2 separate regions of the Homo sapiens genome follow, and region 1 is linked to region 2. Evidence: promoter capture Hi-C in 16 types of primary human blood cells and fetal thymus (Javierre and others, 2016). All regions are on one chromosome and are shown on one strand. The core of a region is centred on a gene start or on the middle of the fragment in contact, and the rest is flanking DNA. Distances in the headings are between cores, read along the strand shown.

Region 1 (6,597 bases), core at 2,704-5,203, about 13 Mb after region 2:
TGTAAAAGTTCGGGAAGAGCTCGGTCTCCTGAAGGATACGACAGAAAGGCCATGGCATAAAGCCCTGACTTTTCTTCTCTCTTCACTGGAGCTTCCAGTAAAAAGGGCGCTTGTGAGGGAATCACTGTATCAATAGCAGGAGCCAACCCAGTATCAGGTGCCACCACTGTTCTAAGGTTTGACCCGTATTATCTTGTTTAATTCTAATTACAACCCTACACAGTAACGACTATCTTTATTGCTATTTTAAAGATGAGGAAACAGGAGCGCGGATCATAGGTAACTCGCTGTTTATTATACCCACAGAACTAGCGGCGCTGCTTGCCAAGTGCGGGAGGAGAGCAAACTTCCCGCCCTCGGCCTCTCGGCCTCCGCCGCGGCCGCGACCTCTCCATCCCAAGACTGATGGCTGGGGAGCGCCTATTCCCAAGCACAGGCTGAAAAGGTTCAAGAGGGGTCGTGGGGGTGCAGGGCTGACTCACCTCCCGGACCCAAAAGATGGTGGCGGCCTCGCTTTCCGGGGCGGAAGTGGCTCTGCCTGCCCAGAGCTCCTGAACTACCCTTCCCAGAAGGCCCGCGCTCCTGCGGCCCAATTGTTTCCGGACAGAGTTCTGGAATACGTTTCCCAGAACTTCCAGAAGGAAAAACCATCCAGGTGCCGCCCTCTTCGCGCTTGAAAAAAAAAAAAACAAAAAAAAAAACGGAGCGAGCGAGTGAGAGAGGGTTACGGAGAGTGTGACAAAATTCTCGGAGCTCCCGGACTACAACATCCAGAATCCTCTTCACGGCTTATTGCTGTTTAGCCAGGCTGAAGCAGTTCTCTGATGTCAGTGGAATTTAGGTTTTTCTTATTAACAAAAAGTAACAGCAAATATGTGAAGAATTGGAGCCCTAAAATAAAAAAAGACTCCCAGCACTTTGGGAGGCCGAGGCGGGCGGATCACGAGGTCAGGAGTTCCAGACCAGCTTGGCCAATATGATGAAGCCCCGTCTCTACTAAAAATATAAAAATTAGCCGGGCGTGGTGGCGCGCGCCTGTAGTCCCAGCTACTTGGGAGGCTGAGGCATAAGAATCGCTTGAACCCTGGAGGGTGCAGTGAGCCAAGATCGTGCCACTGCACTCCAGCCTGGGCGACAGAGTGAGACTCTGTCTCAAAAAAAAAAAAAAGAAAAAAAAAACTATTATAAGAAACAGATCACGTGATCCTGTACTAATAGAATTATACCCACCACTTCCAAAAAAAAAAAAAAAAAGGGCAGAGGAAACCCTTTAAGTTTTTACATTTAACAGGATCGACTAATAGAAAAACTACTCTTTAGATACTAAAAGAATGAAAGAGCAATCAAAAAATGCAACGAAGGCAGAATATATTATGGATTTCCACTTTTCTTAATAGCACAGTCATATAATTCAGAACAACTTGCTTACTGAGGATAGCTAGACATAGAAAACACAAGCTTTGGCATATGGTAGATCAACTCCACAAAGCAACTAGGGCCTCTGTAATCATTCCTCAAGGAGTTTCTGAATTTGAAAGATGAACAAATTTATTACTTCAGTGTTTAAACCTTGATCTTTATTTGCTTAAATGTATAATGGAATTGATGTTTCCAAGAATTGAGGGTTGAAAGAAGAGAGCAATACCTAAAAATATCCACATATCTACTACAGTACATGTTTGCAGTTCTCATTTACTAAATATATATTCTTTATTCTGTTATATACAACTATCTCTTATAAAGAACCAAGTATGTGCCAGGAACTAGTTCAAACTATTCAGACTATGGGACCCTCACTACATTTTCACAACTTTTTTCTTTTTTTTTTTGTTCTGTTTTGTTGTTGTTGTTGTTGTTGTTGTTGTTAGACAGAGTTTGGCTCTTTTGCCCAGGCTGGAGTGAAGTGGCATGACCTCGGCTCATTGCAACCTCCGCCCTCACACAAGGTTCAAGCAAGTCTCCTGCCTCAGCCTCCCAAGTCGCTGGGGTTATAGGCACCCCCCTCCCCACCACGCCCAGCTAATTTTTGTATTTTTAGTAGAGACGGGGTTTTGCCATCTTGGCCAGGCTAGTCTTGAATTCCTGACCTCAGGTGATCCACCCGCCCCGGCCTCCCAAAGTGCTAGGATTACAGGCATGAGCCACCACACTTAGCCCATTTTCACAACTTTTTTAAAACAAATAATGTCCTCTAGTTTACTCTTTGGGATCCAGAGGCAGAGAGAGGTTAAGTATATCTCCTAAGATGGAAATTTGATTATTTTCACCTGCATGTCTATCCAGTGCCCTTAAGAGAAGGTTCAAATGCTTTAACAAGTCGCACAAACAGGAATTTTCCAGATGCTGTTTCTCTCTTGGAATCCACTTTCCACTCTACATGTCCAGCCATAGTGGATTACTTGTACTCCTACAAAAAGCCTCTAATTCTTTGTATTTGGTGTTCCTTCTGTCATAACCTGCTACTCTTTTCCCTCCTGGGTGACGGTCTTCATCCATAGCTTAAATATTCCCTGCTCTAATAAGACTTACTGTGGGTTCTTGCCTTGTAGACTAATAAAAGTAGTGTGTAGTAGCTAATATTACAGCCTTAGTATAAAGCTATCTAGATTAAAATACTAGTGCTTCCATTTCTTCTGTCCCCTTTTTCTTCATTTGTAAAATGGAGACTATAATAGGGTTGATATCAAGTACAAATGAATAAATACATGTAAAACACTGGAAATTCTGCCTGATTCATGACTACCCTATAAAAAGTTAGCAAATGTTAACCTCAGGGGATAAACACAGGACACATAAATTATGGATGGAAGGTTTCTACAAAAATTTGCTTTGATCACTAAAATATTATCAATAACCATGCATCAACTTTTGATTACTGGGAAAAAAACTAGAAGACTATGCAAATGCATCCCACCAAAAGTGAGATAAAGAGTCACTAATATTGACATTATTTCCTTTTATTTTTTCCTAAATCCATTTTGGGAATTCTGAATACAATCTAAATGATCTGCAGGTTTCCATTTCAAGATACTGGGCAGCTCCACAAACCACAAACACTAAACCCCTCCTTACCAGTCTTGTGCTGGGTGCTAAGCACATGGTAAAGAATGGGACATAGTTCCTGCAACAAAGTAACATGCAGCCTAAGGGAGAAACAGATCAGATCTAAAAGACCCTGAGTAGGCCGGACTCTGTGGCTCACGCCTGTAATCCCAGCACTTTGGGAGGCCGAGGTGGGCAGATCACGAGGTCAGGAAATCGAAACCATCCTGGCTAACACGGTGAAACCCCGTCTCTACTAAAAATACAAAAAATTAGCCGGGTGTGGTGATGGGCGCCTGTAGTCCCAGCTACTCAGGAGGCTGAGGCAGGAGAATGGCGTGAACCCGGGAGGTGGAGCTTGCAGTGAGCCGAGATCGCGCCACTGCACTCCAGCCTGGGCGACAGAGCGAGACTCCGTCTCAAAAATAAATAAATAAAAATGAATAAATAAATAAATAAATAAAAGACCCTGAGTAAAACATTCCAAATAAAGAAGCCAAATTCATAACTATTCCTTTCCAAATCTCAATGATTCCCTCTCCTTTAGGTTTTTCACATAACTACCTTCCTCCTAGTTGCCAGGAAAGAAAACCCTGAAGTTATTTGCTTTCCTTTGCTCTTCATTCATAATTACTTTATGTTAATTACTTTTAATTTCTACCGACTGACTAGGATTTGGTTTTGATTTTAAATAGTCAAATTCCTCCTCTTCCCACCAAAAACATATGTGGGAGAAGAGTAATAGATGCAATAAGATAGACAAAATGTTTACAAGAGTTAAAGACAAATGATGGCGGGGTGGGGGTCATTAACACTATTTTCTGTATGTGCATGTTTGGGAATTTCTACAAGAAAAATTAGAGAAATACCATGTGGGTGGTATGGCACCAATGCATAAATGCATTTAAAATGTTAGCAGTGGTTATCTCTAAATCCTGAGATTATGGGTTAAAGGAACGGGGTCTCGCTGTCATCCAAGCTGGAGTGCAGTGCCGTGGTCATAGCTCACTGCAGCTTCAAACTCCTGAGCTCAAGCGATCCTCCCACCTCAGCCTCCCAAGTAGCTGGGACTATCGGTATGTGCCACCACACCCAGCTAATTGTTTAAATATACAGCAGTGAATATGGGTAACTTTCATTTCCTTTTATACATTTCTGTATTTTCTAATCTCTCTATAATGGTCATGCATTATTTCTATAAGGAGAATATAGACTCTAAAGCCCCAGATCACCTTCCAAACCTGATAGAAAAAGACTTCCACAAACCATATACACGATTATTTCATATGGTTCTAAGAAAAATGTACAGCGTGGAGAATATGAACACAGACTTGAGGCTCCAACTTCTTGGGTTCATATGGACGTTCTGCCTCTTACTAACTGTACGTTTTAGGGTTCGTCTTCCCTCTTCTTTTTCTTAGAGCATTTCCATAAGAAACCTAGTGCTTCTGAATCCTTTCTCTAACCTTTTGATACGCATGTAAATTTCATTAGCGGCTATGTAAGCCTCTAGCCAGGTTTACAACCTAGAAGTATTTGTGAAAGTTCTGAGATTTGTCCCTTTTGAATATAAACATCTGAGAAAATAACAACCCACTGTCCCTATCACTGCAAGAGTTTAACCAAGGTGCCTCTCTTTAAACTGTAAATCGGCTAGCAGATGAGGTAAGAGAAGTTTTATTACTTTCGATAAAGTTAGTTAACTAACACTGGATTCTCAAGTAAATTTAGAATAAATTTATAAAAGAATTTGCAGTAAATGATGAGACCAAGTCCTCTTATTGAAAAATCATTAATCTTGAGAACTGATGTACATAGTGGTCAAAAGTAGAATTGTATAAAAAGTTTAAAACTGCTTGACTGTACACATAGGGCGGAATTTTTTAATAATATTTTTCTTTAGATTGCCTACAATACTATACAGTGGTTGTCCTTATTCAGTAATAAGACAGCTTTCTTTTCTACATTGTGTGGAGAGGTCTATTATCTTCGTCTCTCTGTTAGAACATAAGTGGTACCTACCACATAACGGTATTTTGGACATTTAATGAATAATTCGTATAAAAGTACAAGGACCTCCTACTAATGACTCTACTTCAGGAATGAGGAGAATGGGATAGAGAAAGATTAAGATTAACTCACAAAACGTTATAACACTAGTAAGTGGCAGAGCTGGCAAGTAGGTGGGAGAGGCTGGCTGCGGAACGCCAGGAGACCCTCTAACCAAGCGACAACCGATCCAGGACGCTCCCAACCCGGGGACGCAAGAACTGCTCCAAACGTGAGGCTCAGCCGAGAGGAAAGAACACAAACTGCTCCCAACTCCAGCCTCCCAGCTGGCCACAGCTTCTCTAGCCTTCCTCCAGACGAGGGCCAGGGCCCCGCTTGCTCCCTGACGAGGCTGAGAAAACTTGGAGGGTCCCAGCGGATCCAAACACTTGTTTTCGCCCTCCTAGAGCGAAAAAACTTCCCAGCAACTAAAGAGAAACCCCGGATCACTTCCCACAATTCCCTAGCTCCGCCATCCAAAAGCGGAAGTGCCCCAGGCTACGCGGGCCCCTGACTACACTTCCCAGAATGCCCCAGGGGAAACCGGCCATAGTTCCGCTCCTTGGAGCGGAAATACTTCCGAGTAACCTGAGCTTCCGGGTATCCTAGAAAGCCAGAGCAAATCTTAGCCAAGATTTGCAATTTTAGAGTGGAAGTGTCTGTCTTGGTGGTACCTACCGATTCTGTTGTTCAAGGGCCTTGGGGAAGAAGTTGGGGATCGGGAGAAGGGTACCTAGTAAAACCCAAAGAGCTGCACTACAGGAGTAAAGATAAAGGGCAAATAGATCATCTTCACTAGGGGACTGAAGCAAAACTTGAAATCACATTCGTACCTGAAAATAGATTAAAGTAAACCTTTTCTGTTAGTGTTTGCAGGTACCTGACATAAACAAAAATATTCTAATGGAGAAAGAGACTATCGTCCTAGGCCTCATATTCTTTCTCTAATTTTAAAATATATTAATATTGGACAAAGTACAATAGTCCTTGAAGAAAAGAACATTTTAAGATATACAAAGAAACACTTCATAGTAATGAAAATTTTCTATCAACTATAACAGCCTTACATAATGTAAAGCAAACTTTATAAAGAAAAATTGATTGACAGACTCATAAGGAGAAAAACACTGATAAACAGGAGAGCTTTTAATACATGATTAGAAGGAAACATAGAAAGCCTTGAAATCATATACAGGTCCTGGAGTTAACAATGGTTCACTTAAGATTTTTCGACTTCATGATGGTGTGAAAGCAACACACATTCAGTACAGTACCTATACAACCCTTCTGTTTTTCCCTTTCAATACCTATTCAATAAATTATATGATATTCAACACTTTATTATGAAATAAGCTTCTTTTTGCTAGATAACGTTGCCCTTGGATCACCTGAGGTCAGGAGTTTGAGACCACCCTGGAGAATATGGCAAAACCCTGTCTCTACTAAAACTATGAAAATTAGTCGGGCGTGGTGGTGCGCACCTGTAGTCCCAGCTACTCTGGAGGC
Region 2 (6,216 bases), core at 1-2,500:
ATATATAAAATCACTCCACCCCTTTCCGTTCACCTGCAGGCTTGCTCTGTCTCTCAGGCTGGAATGCAGTGGCAAGATCCTTGCTCACTGCAGCCTTGACCTCTTGGGCTCAATTGATCCTCCCACCTCAGCCTTCCAAGTATCTGGGACTATAGTAGTCCGACACGGCGGCTGGGATTCAGGCTGGCTGGGTCATTTTGCTTTTTTTTTCTTTTTTTTTTTTTTGAGATGGAGTCTCCCTCTGTCGCCCAGGCTGGAGTGCAGTGGCATGATCTCAGCTCACAGCAACCTCTGTGTTTTGGGTTCAAGCAATTCTGCCTCAGCCTCTTGAGTAGCTGAGTAGCTGGGACTACAGGTGTGTACCACCATGCCCAGCTAATTTTTGTATTTTTAGTAGAGACAGGATTTCACCATGTTGACCAGGCTGGTCTTGAACTCCTGACCTCAGGTGATCTGTCTGCCTCAGTCTCCCAAAGTGTTGGGATTACAGGCTTGAGCCACCGCACACCGCCAAGGGTCATTTGCTAATACGATCTTTGGATACCTCTTCTCCTGGGAGGAGGTCTAGTCTGGTGCATCCTGTCCCATGAAGTCTGGTTTAATCTCTTGGAATTCAGTTGGACGCTCAATTTTGGAAGGTCTCCATGTCTGCAGGCAAGGGCATGTAGCCTGTGTTTAAATTCAACACCCAGACTAGGGTGGGGATGGATTGGCATGTTGATCTCATTTTGAGAGTATTAGTACAGCTGAAGAGATTTTGCCAGTTGGAGGTTGGAGCCTGAATTCTTTCTGTCGGGCGGAGAGCACTTTAAGGCATTGTTCCACCTCCGCTGGCCCTATTTCTTTTTTCTTTTCCTTTCTTTTTTTTTTTTTGAGACGTGAGATGGAGTCTCGCTCATTGCCCAGGCTGGAGTGCAGTGGCACGATCTTGGCTCACTGAAGCCTCCGTCTCCCGGGTTCAAGCGATTCTCCTGCCTCAGCCTCCCAAGTAGCTGGGATTACAGGCACGTGCCACCATGACCAGCTAATTTTTGTATTTTTAGTAGAGACGGGGTTTCCCCATGTTGGCCAGGCTGGTCTTGAACTCCTGTCCTCCCAAAGTGCTGGGATTACAGGCATGAGCCACCGTGCCCAGCCAATTTTTGTTGTTTTAATTTATTTTCATCCTCTGACATTTGGATAATGTTTTCCATGCTTTCTATTTCAAAGTTAAGGTAAAAAATTTTTACTTGCATGAACTTAAAAAAAATTCCATTGGAAACTGATTGGGCAGATTTGAAAATTAAGCTTTCACAATCACAATTTTTATGAGAGTTCATTCAGTTTTGGAGAAGTCGAGGAAAGAATTGGGAATTGAAATTTTGATGTGGCCTGATAGGATCAGGTGGGGCTTTTGATAGGAAGTGAGTGTTTTGGGTTGTTTCTTGACTGGATTATGATGCGGAATACAGCGGGTAGAGGGCCGATTAAGTTTTAGTCATTAGTGTAGCTTTTCAGTATACACGCCTTTTCATTTTCAGTCCCTTTCAGAAGAAAAGACCACAGGCATCAGAAATCAATCAACTTGCTAATTTATGCCAGATTCCACTGGAGGTAAGCTGATTTTTTTTTCTCCCTGAAAACCAAATGTCTGGGTTTTGTTTGTTTGTTTGTTTTGCATTTTTACTTAGTTTCATTTTTCTACCTCTCCTATTTGCTGGAATAAGCTAAATATTTTACATTGGTAGTTTAGATTTTTTTTTTAGTTGTCATATTGAAAAGTGATGCTCCCAGGACACTCAAAATTATTTTCGTGGCCCTCCAGTCCTTAGCATTACTGCTGGCCCACAGCTACTTCTAAAAACTTTTTATTGACAAATAATAATTGTGTTTATTTATGGGGTACAATGTGATGTTTTGATACATGTTTACATTGGGGGGATGATTAAATCAAGCTAATTAATCTATTTTTGTGGTGAAAGCATTTACAATTTACTGTTTTTTAAAATTATATATATTTTTTGTGCTAGAATTGGACTCCTCAAACTTTAATAAACATTAAAGTTGTGCCCGGCAAGTTTATTCTTTTTAAAAACATATTTACTTATTTAAAACTTTATTCCTGGCTGGTGTGGTGGCTCATGCATGTAATCCCAGGATTTGGGGAGGCTGAGGGAGGAGGATTGCTTGAGCCTAGGAGTTTGAGACCAGTTTAGGTGACATAGCAAGATCCCTTCTTTACAAAAAATAAAAAGTTAGCTGATGTGGTAGCATGCACCCATAGTCTTAACTATTCAGGAGGCCAAGGTAGGAGGATTGCTTGAGCCAGGGATTTTTAAACTGCTGTGAGCCGGGATCACATCACTGCACTCCAGCCTGGGTGACAGAATGAGACCCTGCCTCAATAAAATAAAATAAAAAATAAAAACTTTATTACTTAAACATTGAGACAGAGGTTTCACTATGTTGCACAGGCTGGTCTCAAACTCCTGGGCTTGGCTGGATGTGGTGGTTCACGCCTATAATCCCAGCACTTTGGGAGGCTGAGGCCGGCGGATCACTTGAGATCAGCAGCTCGAGACCAGCCTGAACAACATGGTAAAACCTTGTCTCTACTAAAAATGCAAAAATTAGCTGGGCATGGTGGTGCATGCCTGTAATCCCAGCTACACGGGAGGCTGAGGCAGGGGAATCCCTTGAACCCGGGAGGCAGAGGTTGCAGTGAGCCGAGACTGTGCCACTGCACTCCAGCCTGGGCGACAGAGCAAGACTTGGTCTTAAAAAAAAAAAAAAAAAAGTAACTCCTGGGCTCAACTGATCCTCCCACCTTGGCTTTCCAAAGTGCTGGGATTATAGGTGTGAGCTGCCACGCGTGGCCAAAATCTACGCTTTTGGCAAAGAATTACCAATGATCCAGCTGTCCCGCTTATGGCAAAGCTGAAGGGCTATCTGCATCCCATGTTCACTGCGGCGTTATTCGTCACGACCACAGCTGCTTCAGGATTCATGGTTTCTGCTCTCGGCCTTCCTTACTGTGCTCTAGCTGATCTGATGCTTGCCTCATTGTCTTTGCACAGGCTTGTTTTAAAGGTGCTGTTGAACTGCTGTTTAGCTTTCTCTCTCTCTCTTTTTTTTTTTTTTTGGGACGGAGTCTCGCTCTGTCGCCCAGGCTGGAGTGCGGTGGCGCGATCTCGGCTCACTGCAAGCTCCGCCTCCCGGGTTCCCGCCATTCTCCTGCCTCAGCCTCCCGAGTAGCTGGGACTACAGGCGCCCGCCACCACGCCTGGCTAATTTTGTTTTTGTATTTTTAGTAGAGACAGGGTTTCACCGTGTTGGCCAGGATGGTCTTGATCTCCTGACCTCGTGATCCGCCTGCCTCGGCCTCCCAAAGTGCTGGCATTACAGGCATGAGTCACCGCGCCCAGCCAATTTTGTATTTTTAGTAGAGACGGGGTTTCACCATGTTGGACAGGCTGGTCTCGAACTCCTGACCTCTGGTGATCTGCCTGCTTCAGCCTCCCAAAGTGCTGGGATTACAGGCGTGAGCCACCGTGCCTGGCTTGCACTTTCTTCTTTGAGACCCAGTCTCAATAAATAAACAAACACAAAAAAACCAAAACAAAAAAAAAAAAGACCTTCAGAAGGGGATCACTGAGGTACAAGTCAGGGCTTTTCTGAGTGGGTTAGGGAGAGCTTTTATCCAGGGTGTGGAGCATTCTATGCTGGATGATCCCCAACTTCCAAAGCGAATTCTGCTATTTCATGGTTCTTTTCCATTTTCCCTCAGATCTGCCTTCCCAAGACTTTACTGACTGGTGAAGAACAGGAAATGAACAATTCCCAGGTGAGCTTTTCAAAAAAATCTAAATCTCATAATGAATAAACGTATGACCCACGTTCCTCTTGCTCAGAATTAACTGTGCTAACCTTTTGGCATATTTTCCTCCTTCCTTCCATACTTCTATTAAAAGGTAACACACACTCTACTTTCTGCTTTCCTATTAAAGCTGAAACATTTCAAGTAAAGCTCAAGGCTGGGCATGGTGGCTCACACCTGTAATTCAGCAATCTAGGAGGCCAAGGCAGGCGGATCGCTTGAGTTCAGGAGTTTGAAACCAGCCTGGGCAACATGGCGAGATCCCGTCTCTACAAAAAATTAGCTGGGTGTGGTGGTGGTGGCGTACACCTGTAGTCTCAGCTACTCTGGAGGCGGAGGTGGGAGAATCGCTTGAACCTGGGAGGTTGAGGCTGCAGTGAGCCATGATTGTGCCACTGCACTCCAGCCTGGGTGACAGAGCATGACCCTGTCTCAAAAAAAAAAAAAAAAAAAGCTTGGTTACGGAAACACCAGGAGTTTGGTCTAGGTCCTGCTACTGGCTGCACAGAAAGCCAATGACTGAGACAATGGGTATTGCCAAGGAAGAAGCTTTAATCAGCTGCCGTAGGTGAAGAAATGGGAGCTCAGCCTCAAATCCATCTCCCTAACTCACTAAAACTAGGGGTTTATACAGCATGGAAGAAATATAACAATGTGTAAGAAAGCAAGACTAGGGAGGGGGCAAGGAGACATCTGTTGTGGTGAGTTTCAGTTGTGGTGAGTTTCAGTTGATTTTTTTTTTTTGAGGGAGTCTCGCTGTGTCACCCAGGCTGGAGTATAGTGGTGCAATCTCAGCTCACTGCAACCTCTGCCTCCCAGGTTCAAGCGATTCTCCTTCCTCAGCCTCCTGAGTTGCTGGGATTACAGGTGTGCGCACCACCACTCCTGGCTAATTTTTGTATTTTTTGGTAGAGACGGGGCTTCACCATGTTGGCCAGGCTGGCCTCGAAATCTTGACCTCAGGTGATCTGCCTGCCTTTGAGAGATCTGAAGGTCTTTTCCTGAGGAAGGAACTCAGACAAAACAAATACAGGTTTCAAGCTTTAACAGCGGAAGGGTCAATTTCTATGTTTATCCAAAAAACAAAAACAAAAACAAAAACAAAAAACAAAAAACCCACAACTGTCTATGGGATTACTGGGCTGGTTTCAGCTCAAGCATCTTTGTTTTGTTGTTTTTTTTTTTTTTTTTTTTTTTGAGACAGTCTCCCTCTGCCACCCAGGCTGGAGTGCAATGGCTTGATCTTGGCTCACTGCAACCTCCACCTCCCAGGTTCAAGCGATTCTCCTGCCTCAACCTCCTGAGCAGCTGGGATTACAGGCGCACGCCACCACGCCCACGCCCGGCTAATTTTTGTATTTTTAGTAGAGATGGGGTTTTACCATATTGGTCGGGCTGGTCTCGAACTCCTGACCTCAGGTGATCCACCCGCCTCAGCCTCCCAAAGTTCTGGGATTACAAGGGTGAGCCACCACGCCCAGCCTCAAGCATCTTTTGACCATTGCTCTTACAAACCTGGTCCACTGCTAAGCCCTGAGATGTAACAGTGTCATGTGTGTTTCACCCCAACCTATTTTTTAAATGATTGGTGTCTTGAATGTGTGTCCTCTCCCAACTTTGTTCGGTGTGTATTTGAAACAAATTCTGTAAATCCACACAATAAACTGAAAAATCATTAACTAGTACCAGTCGGAATCAAAGTAAATTATGGATAGCTGAAAGACCAAGGATAAGTTGTATGCAGTTAGGCAGATAGTAGTTTCTTTGCAATTGTTAAAATTAAGCCTGTTGACCAATTTCCTGTTGACAGGAAAGGCATACTAAGGCTGGGTGTGGTGGCTCACACCTGTAATCCCAGCACTTTGGGAGGCGAAGGCAGGAAGACCACTTGAGGCCAGGAGTTCAAGACCAGCCTGGACAATATAGTGAGACCCTGTCTACAAATAATAAAAAATGAGCTTAGCATGGTGGTGCATGCCTGTAGTCCCAGCTATTCTGGAGGCTGAGGTAGGAGGATTGCTTGATCCTGGGAGGTTGAGGCTGCAGTGAGCCATGATCATGCCACTGTACTCCAGCCTGGGTGGCAGAGCAAGAACCTGTGTCAAAAATTTAAAAAAAAAGGCCGGGTGCGGTGGCTCATCCCTTTAATCCCAGCTCTTCGGGAGGCCGATGCGGGCAGATCACTTGAGGTCAGGAGTTTGAGACCAACCTGGCCAACATGGTGAAACCCGTCTCTACTAAAAGTACAAAAATTAGCCAGGTGTCGTGGTGCGCGCCTGTAATCCCAGCTGCTCAGGAGGCTGAGGCAGGAGAATCGCTTGAACCCAGGAGGTGGAGGTTGCAGTGAGCCGAGATTGTGC

The links. Contacts are between HindIII fragments. The CHiCAGO score rates a contact against its expected background, and 5 or more counts as called.
Region 1: a fragment that was not itself captured here is called in contact with the fragment with the promoter of ZIM3 in region 2 in 1 of 17 cell types (total CD8 T cells); the score reaches 5.7 in total CD8 T cells.

The regions. Positions count from the first base shown.
Region 1 is chr19:44,206,471-44,213,067 of GRCh38, reverse strand. ZNF227 (zinc finger protein 227) reads right to left here and starts at 536. Exons shown (of 6, transcript NM_182490.3): 1 at 483-536. RefSeq lists enhancers at 5,240-5,289, 5,300-5,399. The HindIII fragment of the contact is 4,986 bases long and covers 1,461-6,446 here.
Region 2 is chr19:57,140,236-57,146,451 of GRCh38, reverse strand. ZIM3 (zinc finger imprinted 3) reads left to right here and starts at 1,250. Exons shown (of 5, transcript NM_052882.1): 1 at 1,250-1,593; 2 at 3,767-3,823. The coding sequence starts at 3,809. The HindIII fragment of the contact is 22,671 bases long and covers 1-1,289 here.